5 separate regions of the Homo sapiens genome follow, and regions 2, 3, 4 and 5 are each linked to region 1. The links are contacts of gene promoters, found by promoter capture Hi-C in human tissues and cell types (Jung and others, 2019). All regions are on one chromosome and are shown on one strand. Each heading gives the region's core, a stretch centred on a gene start or on the middle of the fragment in contact. The rest is flanking DNA. Distances are from core to core; before and after follow the strand shown. Region 1 holds the start of PLAGL2 (PLAG1 like zinc finger 2). Region 2 overlaps ASXL1 (ASXL transcriptional regulator 1). Region 3 has its middle 12 kb from the start of ASXL1. Region 4 overlaps XKR7 (XK related 7). Region 5 overlaps ASXL1 (ASXL transcriptional regulator 1).

What was found. The method cuts DNA at HindIII sites, captures the fragments that hold promoters and counts their contacts. A contact is called where the count stands out against the background at its distance.
Region 2: a contact is called between a fragment that was not itself captured here and the fragment with the promoter of PLAGL2 in region 1, in 1 of the 25 tissues and cell types used here (mesenchymal stem cells).
Region 3: a fragment that was not itself captured here is called in contact with the fragment with the promoter of PLAGL2 in region 1 in 3 of the 25 tissues and cell types used here (liver, mesenchymal stem cells and thymus).
Region 4: a contact is called between a fragment that was not itself captured here and the fragment with the promoter of PLAGL2 in region 1, in 3 of the 25 tissues and cell types used here (H1 embryonic stem cells, IMR-90 fibroblasts and lymphoblastoid cells).
Region 5: a fragment that was not itself captured here is called in contact with the fragment with the promoter of PLAGL2 in region 1 in 1 of the 25 tissues and cell types used here (spleen).

Annotation. Positions count from the first base shown.
Region 1 is chr20:32,206,334-32,209,033 of GRCh38, reverse strand. PLAGL2 (PLAG1 like zinc finger 2) reads left to right here and starts at 1,291. Exons shown (of 3, transcript NM_002657.3): 1 at 1,291-1,393. It overlaps POFUT1 (protein O-fucosyltransferase 1), which reads right to left and starts at 1,154. Exons shown (of 7, transcript NM_015352.2): 1 at 969-1,154. The coding sequence starts at 1,092. RefSeq lists enhancers at 815-944, 407-1,320 and a silencer at 1,085-1,504. The HindIII fragment of the contact is 8,119 bases long and covers 1-2,700 here.
Region 2 is chr20:32,374,715-32,377,497 of GRCh38, reverse strand. The region is part of intron 4 of ASXL1 (ASXL transcriptional regulator 1); the gene reads right to left. Among named protein-coding and RNA genes, the nearest start is that of ASXL1, 18 kb to the right of the region's middle. The HindIII fragment of the contact is 3,163 bases long and covers 1-2,783 here.
Region 3 is chr20:32,344,616-32,347,495 of GRCh38, reverse strand. No RefSeq gene overlaps it. Among named protein-coding and RNA genes, the nearest start is that of ASXL1, 12 kb to the left of the region's middle. The HindIII fragment of the contact is 4,958 bases long and covers 1-2,880 here.
Region 4 is chr20:31,970,606-31,973,478 of GRCh38, reverse strand. All of the region lies in intron 1 of XKR7 (XK related 7), which reads right to left. Among named protein-coding and RNA genes, the nearest start is that of XKR7, 3.9 kb to the right of the region's middle. RefSeq lists enhancers at 402-901, 902-1,403 and a silencer at 1,019-1,313. The HindIII fragment of the contact is 4,685 bases long and covers 1-2,873 here.
Region 5 is chr20:32,393,966-32,396,665 of GRCh38, reverse strand. The region is part of intron 4 of ASXL1 (ASXL transcriptional regulator 1); the gene reads right to left. Among named protein-coding and RNA genes, the nearest start is that of ASXL1, 37 kb to the right of the region's middle. The HindIII fragment of the contact is 9,568 bases long and covers 1-2,700 here.

The sequences.
Region 1 (2,700 bases), core at 42-2,541:
GTCTGGAAGCCACTGGGGGCCTTAAGATCATCCACTTCCACAATGATGATCCACCATACCCATTTCAACTGTGCACCTGGCATGGTCTTTAGATTCTCCCCTACCCTGCTCTCTTTATTTTCCCTTAGTATTCATCATCCTCTATGAAACTATGTATTTATTGTTTTATGTTTACCCCTTTTTGGGTTTGCTTGTTTCGAGACAGGGTCTCACTCTGTCACCCAGGCTGGCAGTGCGGTGGCACGATCAGAGCTCACTGCAGCCTCGAATTCCTCGGCTCAAGAGATCCTCCCACCTCAGCCTCCCAAGTAGCCGCCCAGATAACTCCCAAGGGACTACAAGCACACGATACCACGCTCTGCTTTTTTTTTTTTTTTTTTTTTTTGAGATTGGATTTTCACTATGTTGCCTAGGCTGATCTCGAGCTCCTGGCTTCAAGTGATCCTGCCTCGGTCTCTCAAAGTGGTGGGATTACAGAAGTGAGCCACCGCGCCTGGCCTACTTATTCTCAATTGTTTGTCTTCCCCAACTAAAATGAAGGCTCTACAAGGACACGGAGTTTATCTTATTCACTGCGGTATTCCCAGTACAGAGAACAGGGCCCGGCACAGAATAGGTGCCCCATAAATATTTGCTGAATCAATGAAAAATCACCAGGAGCCAGCGTGGGTCAGTGACATCAAGTCCTGCCCCACTAACTCCATTTACTGGACCCTGGACTGGCTTAGACCTCAAGCAAGTCACGTAACCTCTCCCAGCCTCAGTTTTCTCATCTGTCAAATGGAAAGTTGGACACGTTGGCCCCTCTGTGCCCTTGCAACTAAGGCAGAGAGGAGAAGAGCATGCCCCGTCCCGCTCTGAGGTTCTCTCCTGGACCTGTGAAGGTGTCTCTGGGCGCATCTGAGGAGTGGCTTTTCCTCTCCCGGCCTCAGTTTCTCCATCTGAGCAGAGGGCTTGGGAGGCCTTACCCATGCAGGGGCAGTAGAGCAGGTAACCGGCCGGGTCCCAGGAGCCCGCAGGCATCCCCGGGAGCGGCAGAAGCAGCAGCAGGAAAGACACGCTCAGCGGCCGTGCCCACGCGGCGGCGCCCATGTCGGCCCGGGAACCCGAGCCAGCCGCGGCGCACAGTCGGGGAGGGAAGGAGGGACGCGAGCGCCCGCCCCGCTCCCAGCGGTCCCTGCGCGCCGCCCGCGCACCGCCCCGGCCGCTCTAGCCCGCGGGCGGGCGGGACCATAGAGATCCCGCGGCACCGCCCCCTCCACGACCCGAGCGCCCGCTCGCGCGGCTCCCACAATGCACCGCACAATGGCCCGACCGCCGCCACTACCGGGGCCTGAGGGGGCCTGGCGGAGCCCGAGCGCGGCCCGGCCCGCAGCGTGGGGCCCCGAGCGCGGTGAGTGCCGGCGAGGGCCCCAGGGGACGGCGGGGAGAGGGGCGGGAGGCCGTCTCGCTGCGTCCGCGCGCCCTGTACCCGGAGCGGCGGCGCGCCTCATCTCGGGCCCCTCAGCGCGGTCGCCCACACCCCCGACCCGGGGCCCGGTCTGCGCCAACCCGGCCCCAGATAGGCCCTGGGGTGACGAAAACTCTCCCTGGACCCCATACCTGTGTCTGGGGGACCCGAGGAAGCCACCGGTCCCCTCCCTTCCGAGACCTGGAGACGCAGTCCTGAGGGTCCCCCATTCCCGACCCCTAGGCTCCCTGGAGACCCAGATAAGGCGCTGCTGACCTTACCAGGGACCCGGGTCTGGGGGACGCAGATAAGCTGCACCTGCTCCCTCCCTCCGACACGCCTACCCAGACCCACATAACCCCCTTTCCTGCTCCAGATAGCCCGCTCTGTACCCTGTTTCATTTTCCAGACTTACATAACTCCCTTTGAGGCTTCCCTCAAATATCTGGGTCTGGAGAAGTCGAATAAGCCCCACCTGTAGTTCCCTCCTCAGTGGCCATACTCCCAGGCTTTCGACATCTTCCATCCCGTTACCCATTTTGAGACCCTCTTGAAATTCAGAGGATACACTTCTGACTATCCCCATCCCCCCAGCCTTCCAGCCCTTATAATCCCCCATTTCATTCTTGTGGGGATCCCTTAGAGACCCAGGAAAGTTGCTCATGATTCCTTCCCATCCTCGCTCTTCCTTCCCATCCCAGAGACTCCCTCCAGACTTCTCCCTGGATTTCCTTTGCTTCTCCAGCCCTCATCCACTCCCATCTCTCCCAGGCTCGGGGAATTGAACCTTTCCCACACCACAGTGGGGTGATCTAAAAGTTGGCCTGGGACCAGGCTGTGGCCCACCTTGGTGGGGAGAAAGGGGCCTGTTAGGTGGAGGATATGGGGACACCTGTGTGGGGGAATCGGTGCTTTCACCTGCAAGCTTAGCCTGTCTCCTGGCTTGTGTGTTTTTCCACCTGTCAGCCATGGGACTGTGTGTAGAGTCTGGTCTTGGGTTTCTAACCTTTCTCTCCTAAGGTGAGGCCACCAGATTGGGAGCGGGGGTGTCGAATCACGTTTTCTCCCCATGAAAATGGGGTTGTGATGAGTTGCAGCCATTTGTTCAAGGCCTCCCCAGGAGTGGGAGGCAGCAGGAATCTGAGGAAATAGTGAATCAAAGAGACTCCAAAGAGGGCCCATCTACACTGACAGAAGAATTAGCAGCCTGAGAGTAAATCCAACCCCTGTTAATCCTGTTTGATGTTTCT
Region 2 (2,783 bases), core at 201-2,700, 170 kb before region 1:
TTCAGATAAAGGATACTCAACCTGTACCATCACATTACCCAGAAAAACTTTTATCAAAGAAGAAACCCTTTGTCATGCCCAAAAAATCTCCAGCAAATCAGTAAACCTGACAATCATAGGTAAGTCCACACAAATGTTTCCAGAACCAAAAAATAAAATAAAAAATTGCAATTATTTTCAAATAGTAAAACCACGTAGATAAAATATAATTCTGGCCAGGCACGTGGCTCACGCCTGTAATCCCAGCACTTTGCGAGGCTAAGGTGGGTGGATCACCTGACGTCAGGTGATATAATATACATAGATATATCTATAATATATTATATATAATATATTTATAGATATCTGTATAATATATAATATATATTATATTAATATATCTATTAATATATTATATATAATATAGATATCTATATAACATTATATATAATATATAATAGACATATTATATCTGTTGTATATTATATCACCTGACCTCAGGTGATCCACCCACCTTAGCCTCCCAAAGTGCTGGGATTACAGGCATGAGCCACGTGCCTGGCCAGAATTATATTTTATCTACGTGGTTTTACTATTTGAAAATAATTGCAATTTTTTATTTTTATTTTATAAATATAAAATATATAACATATAATTATATATTATATATCTATCATGATATTTATATAATATATAATATATAAAATACATTATATATATCATGATAGATATATAATATATAATATACAAAATTCTGACCCTAATGTCCCACCAGATGAGATTTCCAAGTACGGAGGAGAAAAAACTTAACAAGCCATTCTGCACGTAAGCTTATCCTTAACACATAAGGGAGAACAGGCAAAGAAAATGCCAAAAGATTTCAAAGGTGTCACTACTACCTTTAAAAGGAAAACAGAGAAATGTGAGTTAAATAACTGGTGTCAGCTGGGTGTGGTGGCTCACGCCTGTAATCCCAACACTTTGGGGGGCTGCGGTGGGTGGATCACCTGAGGTAAGGAGTTCAAGACCAGCCTGGCCAACATGGTAAAACCCTGTCTCTACTAAAAATACAAAAAATTAGTCGGGTGTGGTGGCTCACGCATATAATCCCAGCTACTCAAGAGGCTGAGGCAGGAGGATCACTTCAACCCGGGAGGCAGAGGTTACAGTGAGCCGAGATTGCGCCACTGCACTCCAGCCTGGGTGATACAGTGAGACTCCATCTCAAAGATAACACAACACAACACAAAATAAAATTAAAATAAAATAAAATAAAATAAAAATAAAATAAAATAACTGGTGTCTTCCTGTCCATTATCATAGGCAAGACACTCACCAAACTAGCCCTTGGTCGACCACTATGCAAAACTTCCCACCACTTTCATCCTTTGCTGCTGAATCCTTTGGACAACCTGGAACAGTAGACATGACTACTGTCTGGCATTACTACATTAGTACTGGCAGTAAAACATAAAGGATTCCGGAAATAACGAAGATTTCTACATTTTTATTAGTCCTTAAAAAATGTACTTAACTGCCAGGCCTGGTGGCTCACACCTATAAATCCCAGCACTTTGGGAGGCTGAGGTGGGAGGATTGCTTCGAGTCCAGGAGTTCAAGACCAGCCTGGGCAACATGACAAAACCCCATCTCTATTAAAAATACAAAAATTAGCTAGGCGTGGTGTCACGCACCTCTAATTCCAGTTATTTAGGAAGCTGAGGCACAAGATTGCTTGAGCACAGGAGGCAGAGGTTGCAGTAAGCCGTGATCATGCCACTGCACTCCAGCCTGGGCAACGGAGCCAGGCCCTGTCTCAAAAAACAAAACAAAACAAAACAAAAAAAACAAACTACTTACTTCTATACAACAACTAGTCTGGATTGTTCAAAAATATCATGATTGGATACAGGATTTTAGGCCACAAAGAATAATTTTGAAATGAGAGAAAAATTTGAATATGGACTATGTATTATACACAATCATATCAATGTTAAGTTTCTTGAGTGTGATAACGGCATTGTGGTTATATAGGAAAATGTCTTTGTTCTTTTTTTCTTTTTTTTTTTTGAGACCAAGTCTTGCTCTGTCACCCAGGCTACAGTGCAGTGGTGCCATCTCGGCTCACTGCAGCCTCTGCCTCCTGGGTTCAAGTGATTCTCCAGCCTCAGCCTCCCGAGTAGCTGGGATTACAGGTGCACGCCACCACACCCAGCTAATTTTTTGTATTTTTAGTAGTAACGGGGTTTTGCCGCGAACTCCTGACCTAAGGTGATCCGCCCGACTCAGCCTCCCAAACTGCTGGGATTACAGGCGTGAGCCACTGCGCCGGGCTATGTCTTTGTTCTTAAGACATACTATCTAAAGTGCTCAGAGGTGGCTGGGCACGGTGGCTTATGCCTGTAATCCCAGCACTTTGGGAGGCCAAGGCAGGCCTTGAGGTCAGGAGTTCGAGACCAGCCTGACCAACATGGCAAAACGCTGACCAGATATGTCCCCTCGACCTTGGCCTCCATAGCTGTAAGAAATAAATTAATTTTCTTTATAAATTACTCACTTTTGGATATTCTAAGTAATGGAAAATGGACTAAGACTATGGTACTGCCTCAATTTTTCTATAGGTTTGAAATTTTTCAAAATAAATAAACGTAAAGTAAAAATATATATATATGTATTTAACACCACCTTGGATTAGGGTGTTTATTGGACAGACCTGAGTTCTCAAGTGACCAAGATGGTAATCAGCTGGTTCAGATCTTTGATATCCTTTCTCATCCATTCCTGAGTAACAATAAACTAAATGC
Region 3 (2,880 bases), core at 228-2,727, 140 kb before region 1:
GCACTGTTGATGGGAGTGCAAATTCATACAATTGATTTGGGAGGCAGGTTAGCAATATGTAACAAAATCATACTTGCTCTGGGTGTATCAGGATTTGAACACAAGTCTGGCTAACACAAGAAAATTATAGGCCAACAGTGGTGGCTCACGCCTGTAATCTCAGCACTTTGGGAGGCTGAGGTGAGAGGACTGCTTGAGCCCAGGAGTTCAAGACCATCCTGGGCAACACAGTGAGACCCTGTCTCTTTATAAAAAATAACAATTTAAAAGATTTTAGCCGGCCATGGTGGCTCACGCCTGTGATCCTAGCACTTTGGGAGGCTGAGGCGGGTGGATCACCTGAGGTAGACCAGCCTGACCAACATGGAGAAACCCCGTCTCTACTAAAAGTACAAAATTAGCTGGGTGTGGTGGCGCATGCCTGTAATCCCAGCTACTTGGGAAGCTGAGGCAGGAGAATCACTTGAACACGGGAGGCGGAAGTTGCGGTGAGCCAAGATCACTGTATTGCACTCCAGCCTGGGCAACAAGAGCAAAACTCCATCTCAAAAAAAAAAAAAAAAAAATTAATAAAATTATAATGGGAAAACCTTTTGATTTGGTAATTCATGTACAGTGATTTATTCCAGGAGGAAATTAAACAAGCGAACAGTGATCTTTGTCCAAGGTTGCTTAATATAGCATTGTATAAAATGGTAAAAATCTGGAAGTAGCTTCAATGACCATCAATAGTGTTAAATAAATTCTGGTACAATATAATATAATATAATGCAAGGTACTGATTTAAAACAATAATATAAATTTAAATTAACTGGATATATGTCCACAACATATCATTGAGTGAAAATAGGACAGGTGAGTAGAATAAATTTACATATACCATGATGGTCAAACTAAAAGAGTTTGCACAAAGAGGTATCCAAAAGATAATCATTGGCTCTGGGTAACGGAGTTTCCAGTGATTTGTAATTACTTTCTTAAAATGTTTTTGTATTGTTTGAATTTTTTACCATTAGAAGATGTAACTTTTATAATCAAAATATTCAGTACCAGCCTAGGCAACATGGCAAAACCATGTTTCTTTTTTTTTTCCCGAGACAGTCTTGCTCTGTCACCCAGGCTGGAGTGCAGTGACGTGATCTCAGCTCACTGCAACCTCTGCCTCCCAGGTTCAAGCAATTCTCCTGCCTTAGCCTCCCAAGCAGCTGGGATTACAGGCATGCGCCACCATGCTCGGCTAATTTTTGTATTTCTAGTAGAGACAGAGTTTCACCCTGTTGGCCAGGCTGGTCTCAAACTCCTGACCTTGTGATCCACTCCCCTCAGCCTCCCAAAGTGCTGGGATTACAGGCGTGAGCCACCGCGCCCCACCTGCAAAACCATGTTTCTACACAAAATACAAAAAATTAGCCGGGCATGGTGGTGCACGCCTGTACTCCCGGCTACTTGGGAGGCCCAGGTGGAAGGATCACTTGAACCAGGGAGGTGGATGTTGCACTGAACTAAGATGGTGCCACCACACTTCAGCCTGTGAAACAGGGCAAGACCCTGTCTCAAAAATAAACAAACAAACAAAAAATTTCAATAGAGCTCACTGCATTTTGGTTTTAAAATAGCACTTAACTGAACATCTATTACATAGCCTACAAAGTCTATATTCTTATTTATTCCCTACATCAACCCTACATAGGAGGTCTTACTTGTTTATTTTGCAGGTGAGGAGACAACTAAAGGCTCAGAAAGGTTAAGAAGCTTGCTCTGGATGTATCAGAATTTGAACACAGGGCTGGCTGACACAAGAACTCTTTCCATGATGCTCCACTACTTATCTTAATATTGCTATTAATATCTAATAATATATGCCTCATATTGTGTGCCTATTAAGTGCCAGGCACTTGATGGATATTTCTTTAATCCCTTCAGCAACCCTGCAGGGTATTAACCCTCCCCCAGACGTGCAATAGCTCAAAACAGATAGTAAGTGCCAACCCTGGTTTATCCGGCTTCAAAACCTCCCTGCTCCATTTGGCTACATTTCCTGCTAATTTAGTAGTGTACTGTCTTCGATTGGAGACGTTATTTGCCCTGAGGTCTGTGCTCCTCTACATGCCTTTACATCTCCATCTTGTAGCTTTTTGGTTTGACTGCAGTGCTTAAATATAGATTATGGATTTAACCATAATGCAAATATTTACTTTTACCATGCAGTACTTAAACAAGAATGTTGTGAACTCTTAGTTTATCCACGAACTTTATCACCCAGCTCAGAAGCCTTCAGAGTCTCCCCTGGCAGAATAAAAGCAAAACTCAGCAGCTAGGTTCCTTCACAGTCTAGCTCTAATGTGCATGGCCACGAGGCTCCCAGAATGCCCTGGGCTCCCTCCTGCAGGCTCCTGACCATGCTCCTTCTGGGTTTTGCAGCTCAATAGCCCCAGCGCCCAGCAGGATGCTCAGCCCAAAGTGGCATTCAGTAAATGCTGGATGAAAAGAGGAAAGGAGAAAGCTCTACACCCTGAGACAAAGATTTCACCCAGGCAACAAGATGGGGGCGTTGGAGGCTGAATGAAATTCAATTGAGCAGAGATGAGGTAAGGCTTCAATGAAGGCCACATGCTCATGGCACAGTCACCTTCAGACCTACCTCTCTGCTGTGCTATCCAGCTTTACAAAATGCTTTCACATAATAACCCTAACTGCTACTACTTCTAGAGAGCTCACCACATGCCAGGCACTAGGTGCTTTACAAATATGCTTTCTTATTTTATTAGGATTACTGTGATTATTATTAATTTCTGTCCCTCTGCACTAGCTCCACACAAGCTCCAGGAGGGCAGAGGTTTTTGTCTGTGGTGTTCAAAACAGTGCTGGGCATATAGTAGG
Region 4 (2,873 bases), core at 217-2,716, 240 kb after region 1:
TCTGGCCCAGGTATTATATATCCCATATAATATATATCATAGTTTATTTTCTTATTGGTTCCTTCATTAGGCTATTGAGCTCCAAGAGGGCAAGGACTTTGTCTTGTTCACCACTCTATTCCCAGCACTTAGAACAGTGCCTGGTATACAGCAGGTGCTTAATAAATGTCTGCTGAATGAATGACTGCAGATTAAATGAATGACTGCCATGTCATTATGGCTTCAAGGGACTTCAGGACCCCCTTGCTGTCCTGCCATGTGCTCCGTGAACAAAGCTTTGTTCCACAGGGAGCAAAGCCCAAGCTAATGCACTAATCATTGCCAGCAGTTTCTGAGCATTTAACGATGGAATGAGCCCTTTGCTGAACCCTTACACATTATCTCATTAAACCTTGAAACAACCTAAGAGGCGGGTGGGTACAATTTTGGTCCCTAGTTTACAACGGATGAGAGATTATTTGCCTTGTCAAGGTCACATATAAGAAGTAGTAAAGTCTGGATTTAAACTGAGGACACTTGAATCTAGAGTCCGTGCTCTCAACCCTCTCAACCGTTATGCCAAGAATGTAGTTTCCCAGAGGGGAAATCCAGAGCCTGACATTTCCTTCCAATAGGTCACTAACTCATTCCAGAACTTCTCTGTCATGCAGGGCTTCTTAGGTGACATAGAGTGCAGTGTCTGGGCCTATGCATAGAGAGGGCATTAGAGGGAGGGCCCCTAAATCCCAATTGCCTAATTTTCTCCCCATTTTGGGGTTCCCAGATCCCGAAAGCCTGGCAGGAATCCCATGTCAGATCGTCTCCCACTAATTGGCTTAGCAAACCATGCTTATCTGGGTGAAGCTGGGGCCCACTGAGCTCAAGATTAGGAAAAGCAGGATTCATGGCTTACTGCTCTGCTGCCTACAGGGTCAGAGGGGACAGGGTTAGGACTTTAATTAGCTTAAGAACCCTGGGCAGTTTAACAGCTCAGAGAGTTTAAAGGGAAGGGAGGGATGAAGTTGCAGGTTGGTGTCCAGGCCACAGCCAGCTTCGTGCCCCGCCAGAGGATCTGTTTGCTGTTCCCTCAGAGTTCAATCTCTCTGTGCACAAAGATATTGTTCTGGCATGTCCCAAAGTAGCCAGTGTGTGGTGTAAAAGATAGAGCTAGGTTTGGGACTGATCACCTTTCCTCACTTCCTCAGTGGGTGACTTTTGGACAAGGTTCCTTATCTGATAAATGGGTATATCAATAGTCACCAGGGGGGAGGGTTTCAGAGTAACATGAGATCACATGCCTGAAACACTCACACAGGGCCTGTGGGGACACGGTAGGTGTGCAGTGTCTGTGTATGCTTTCTCCTCCTCTCTCTCTTCAGAGCTTCATTTTATGTTTAAATTAGTAATAAAATCTTCTGTGTGAAAAGACCTTATCAATTTGAAGAGCTAAACCAGAGGTTACAAAGAAGACAGGCTAATAAATATGTTTCCTTTGGTTGACACTATTTTTAAACATTTTAATTAGTAGTTAAATTTTGGAGAGTTCACGGAAAAATCCCAATTTCCCATTTCTCTTGAGAAATCAAGACTGGGTCCACGATTTCTCATGGCATGATCAGCTGGAGCTTCCCTTTTCCTCGGACACTACTTGCCCCTGAATGTCCTCTTGTCTGACACCCCTTGTATCTTATGGTCTTATGGTCTGTTACCTGCCTGGGTCCTCAAAGCATTTGAATTTTTAATTCAGGATTTTACAAGTCTAAGAGGTTGAAAAATATCTTCATGATTATAATTATTTTATTCAGAATTGAGGAAATGGGATCAGGAGGTGAGTGACTGCCTAGCCTCCCAGGTGTGATTCTGGAGGACTCAATCACACATCTCCCTCTTCATTACCCCAGGCCCCACCACTCAGAACATCTGTGGGAACATCTCACGTGGTAAGCAAATGTGCTGGGCCAACATTGCTTAATTTCTAGGAATGCCAGCCCCTGCAGCTTCTCTATACCTTCTCTGGGTTTTCCCTCCATTTATCCAGGCCCTTAGCCATTTTAGAATCCAAAGATTTTGGGGGCAAGGGCCCAGAGGCTTTTGCTTTGGCAATAGACCCAGAGTCAGAATTTCAGGAATGGGAAACTCTTAAGGTCATCACATTGAATCTCATTTCACACACAGGGAAACCGAGACCCAAAGATGGAAAGAGCCTTGCCCAAGGTCACCCAGCAAACTATAGTTACAAACTAGGATAAAGATGTCAGCCTCCTGACCAGACCACCCCCGAATCCAGCCTTTTCCCCACAATACACACTGTTCCCGTCCTCACCCACATAGTTCAACTCCCTGCCCCTCTTTTCACATTCTTATCTCAGTGCAACAGAAGCCCTGACTTTCTATCATACTGGAATCTTGGAATCTCAGATTCATACTTCTTTAAGCTTGAGGGACACTTTAGTGGCAGAATTACAAGGTGGATAAATTGAACTCAGGCTTTAAAGGCAGAGAGCCTGGAGTCTCAGCTCTTCAAGTTCCTAGCTGTGTGACCTTGGACAAGGATGCCCCCTCTCTGAGCCTCCATTCCCTCATCTGTCAAGTAGAAATTATAATGCTAACCACATGACAGGATGATTAGAAGGGGTACAGGAAATAAAGCAGGTAAAAAGGCAACCAGTAGGCTTGGCACAAAGTCAGTGTTTAATAAAATAATTGTTATAGAACTGTAAATTAGGGCTTTCATGTCTAAGTGAAATAGTACAGATATGATCAAAGGGAAAGATGGACAAATTAGAGCACATAGACTCTTTCTAAATTGTTACAGGATTGATACTGCTAGATCCAATTTTTTTAAAGGGAAGCTACGACTCTGGGTTTTTAAAATACTATGCAAGCCACACAAA
Region 5 (2,700 bases), core at 68-2,567, 190 kb before region 1:
TATTCTGACAGTAGTCTGTACACTGCATTAGAGACAGAAAAAGTCTGGGAACCAGAGTGCCAATTAAGAAGCTAATGCAACAGTTAGGGAAGAGGTAATTACTCCCTAACTAAGAATGTTACGAATATAAGGAAAAAGATTGTTACAGATTAAATAAGAATAAATAAAGAGGGAAATAAGAAAACATGTATATCTGTATACCCTTACAAAAATAAACACAGAAAGGATACGCCCCACCTAACAAAGCTAAAAAGCAAGCCTCAAAAGAATTAGTTTCCAGCTAACTCATCTGCACTCCAGAACAAATCTCAAAAATACCAACATGAATACAAAAATATCCACAACCCAAAGTGAAATTCACAATGTCTTTCATCTAAACAGAATTTATTAGGATTGCAAAGAACTGGGAAATCTGACCCATAATGACAAGAAAAATAGAATACATAAAAACAGACCCAAAGATGATATAGAGACAGAATCAGAAGAGATTATGAAAAGTTATTATATTTCACATGTTCAACATTGAGCACGTTAAGCAGAGAAATATAAGATGTTTTTTAAGAAACAAACCAGGTGTGGTCGCTCATTCCTGTAATCCCAGCACTCTAGGAGGCTGAGGCAGGTGGATCACCTGAAGTCAGGGGTTTGAGACCAGCCTGGCAAACATGGTGAAGCTCTGTCTCTACTAAAAATACAAAAACTAGCCAGACATGGTGATGCATGCCTGTAATCACAGCTACTTGGGAGGCTGAGGCAGGATAATCGCTTGAACCTGGGAAGCGGAGGTTGCAGCGAGCCAAGATCATGCCACTGCACTTCAGCCTGGGTGACAGAATGAGACTCCGTCTCAAAAAAAAGAAAAAAACTGAATTTTTAAGGATAAAAGGTATAATTCTGGATAAGAGTAACAGATTTAACATGGGAAAGATAAAGACTAGTGAAATGAAGATCAGTAGAAACTACCCAAAACAAAGAGAATCAAATGACTAAAAAACATAACAGTGCATCAGTGAGTTGTATGACTACTTCAAGCAGCCAAATATACATGTAATTACAGACTCCAGATGCGGTGGGGAAGTACAAAAGAAAAATATTTCAAGAAATAGTAGCTGAATACGTAAATTTCATCCATGAAGCTCAAGAGAATTCAAACACAAGAAATATGACGCAAACTACAACAAAGTATATAATAAACACATTGCTGAAAAAGCAGTGATAAAAAGAAAATCTTAAAAATTAACCAAAAAAGGCAAAAAAGATAAATTTGCTCGCTGAAGAACAAAGATTAAAATAACAACAGATTTTACAGGAGAAATAATGCAAGCTAGAGACAGTGGAGCAACATCTTTAAAGTACACAATGAAAAAAACCTGTCAACCTAGAATTCTGTATCAAAGGAATATATCTTTCTAAAAACAAGAGGAAGTACTTTTTCAAACACACCAAAGCTTAAAGATATCACCAGCAGACCTACACTACAAGAAACACATTAAAGGAAGTCCTCTGGCAGAAAGAAAATCTGAACTGACGAGAAAAAACTGAAGAAAATCTGGCAGATGAGAATCTGGAACCGCTCATAGGCAATAAAGAACACCAGAAATGGAAAACATATAAAGTAAAAGACATTTTTTCTTACTTTTAAAATCTTTTTAGGCCAGGCATGGTGGCTCATGCCTGTAATCCCAGCACTTTGGGAGGCCAAGACAGGCGGATCACTGGAGCTCAGGAGTTCGAGACCTGCTGGGCCAACGTGGCAAAACCCCATCTCTACTAATAATACAAAAATCAGCCAGGCATGATGGGGCGCACCTGTAATCCCAGCTACTCAGGAGGCTGAGGCATAAGAATCACTTGAACCCAGGAGGCAGAGGCTGCAGTAAGCCAAGATTGCACCACTGCACTGTAGCCTGGGCAACCGAGTGAGACTCCGTCTCAAAAAAAAAAAAATTGTTTTAAAAAAATTGACTACTTAAATGAAAAATAATAATGTATTGTGGAGTTTACAACATATGTAAAAGTGAAGTGTATGACAAACATAGCACAAAGTCTGAAGGGAAAATGAAGTGTACTGCTATAAGGTTCTTGTAATATAGGTGAAGTGGTATAATATTAAAGACTGAGTTTCACAAGCTGAACTCAATAAACACTAAAGCAGCCACTAAAATAACAAAGTACTAATGAGCCAAGAAAGGACTTAAAAATGAACCACTAAAAAATCCTCAATCCAGGCCAGGCATGGCGTAGCTCACTCCTGTAATGCCAGCACTTTGGGAGGCCAAGGGCAGGGATCACTTGAGGTCAGGAATTCGAGACCTGCTTGGCCAACATGGCAAAAGCCCATCTCTACTAAAAATACAAAAATTAGGCCAGGCACGGTGGCTCACGCCTGTAATCCCAGCACTTTGGGAGGCCAAGGCGGGCAGATCACAAGGTCAGGAATTTGAGACCAGCCTGGCCAATATAGTGAAACCCTGTCTCTACTAAAAATACAAAACATTAGCTGGGTGTGGTGATGGGCGCCTGTAATACCAGCTACTTGGGAGGCTGAGGCAGGAGTATCGCTTGAACCCAGGAGGCGGAGATTGCAGTGAGCCGAGATCGCGCCACTGCACTCCAGCCCAGGTGACAGTGCGAGACTCTGTCTCAAACCAAAAAAAAAAAAAAAAAAATAGCCAGGTGTGGTGGCACGCACCTGTAATC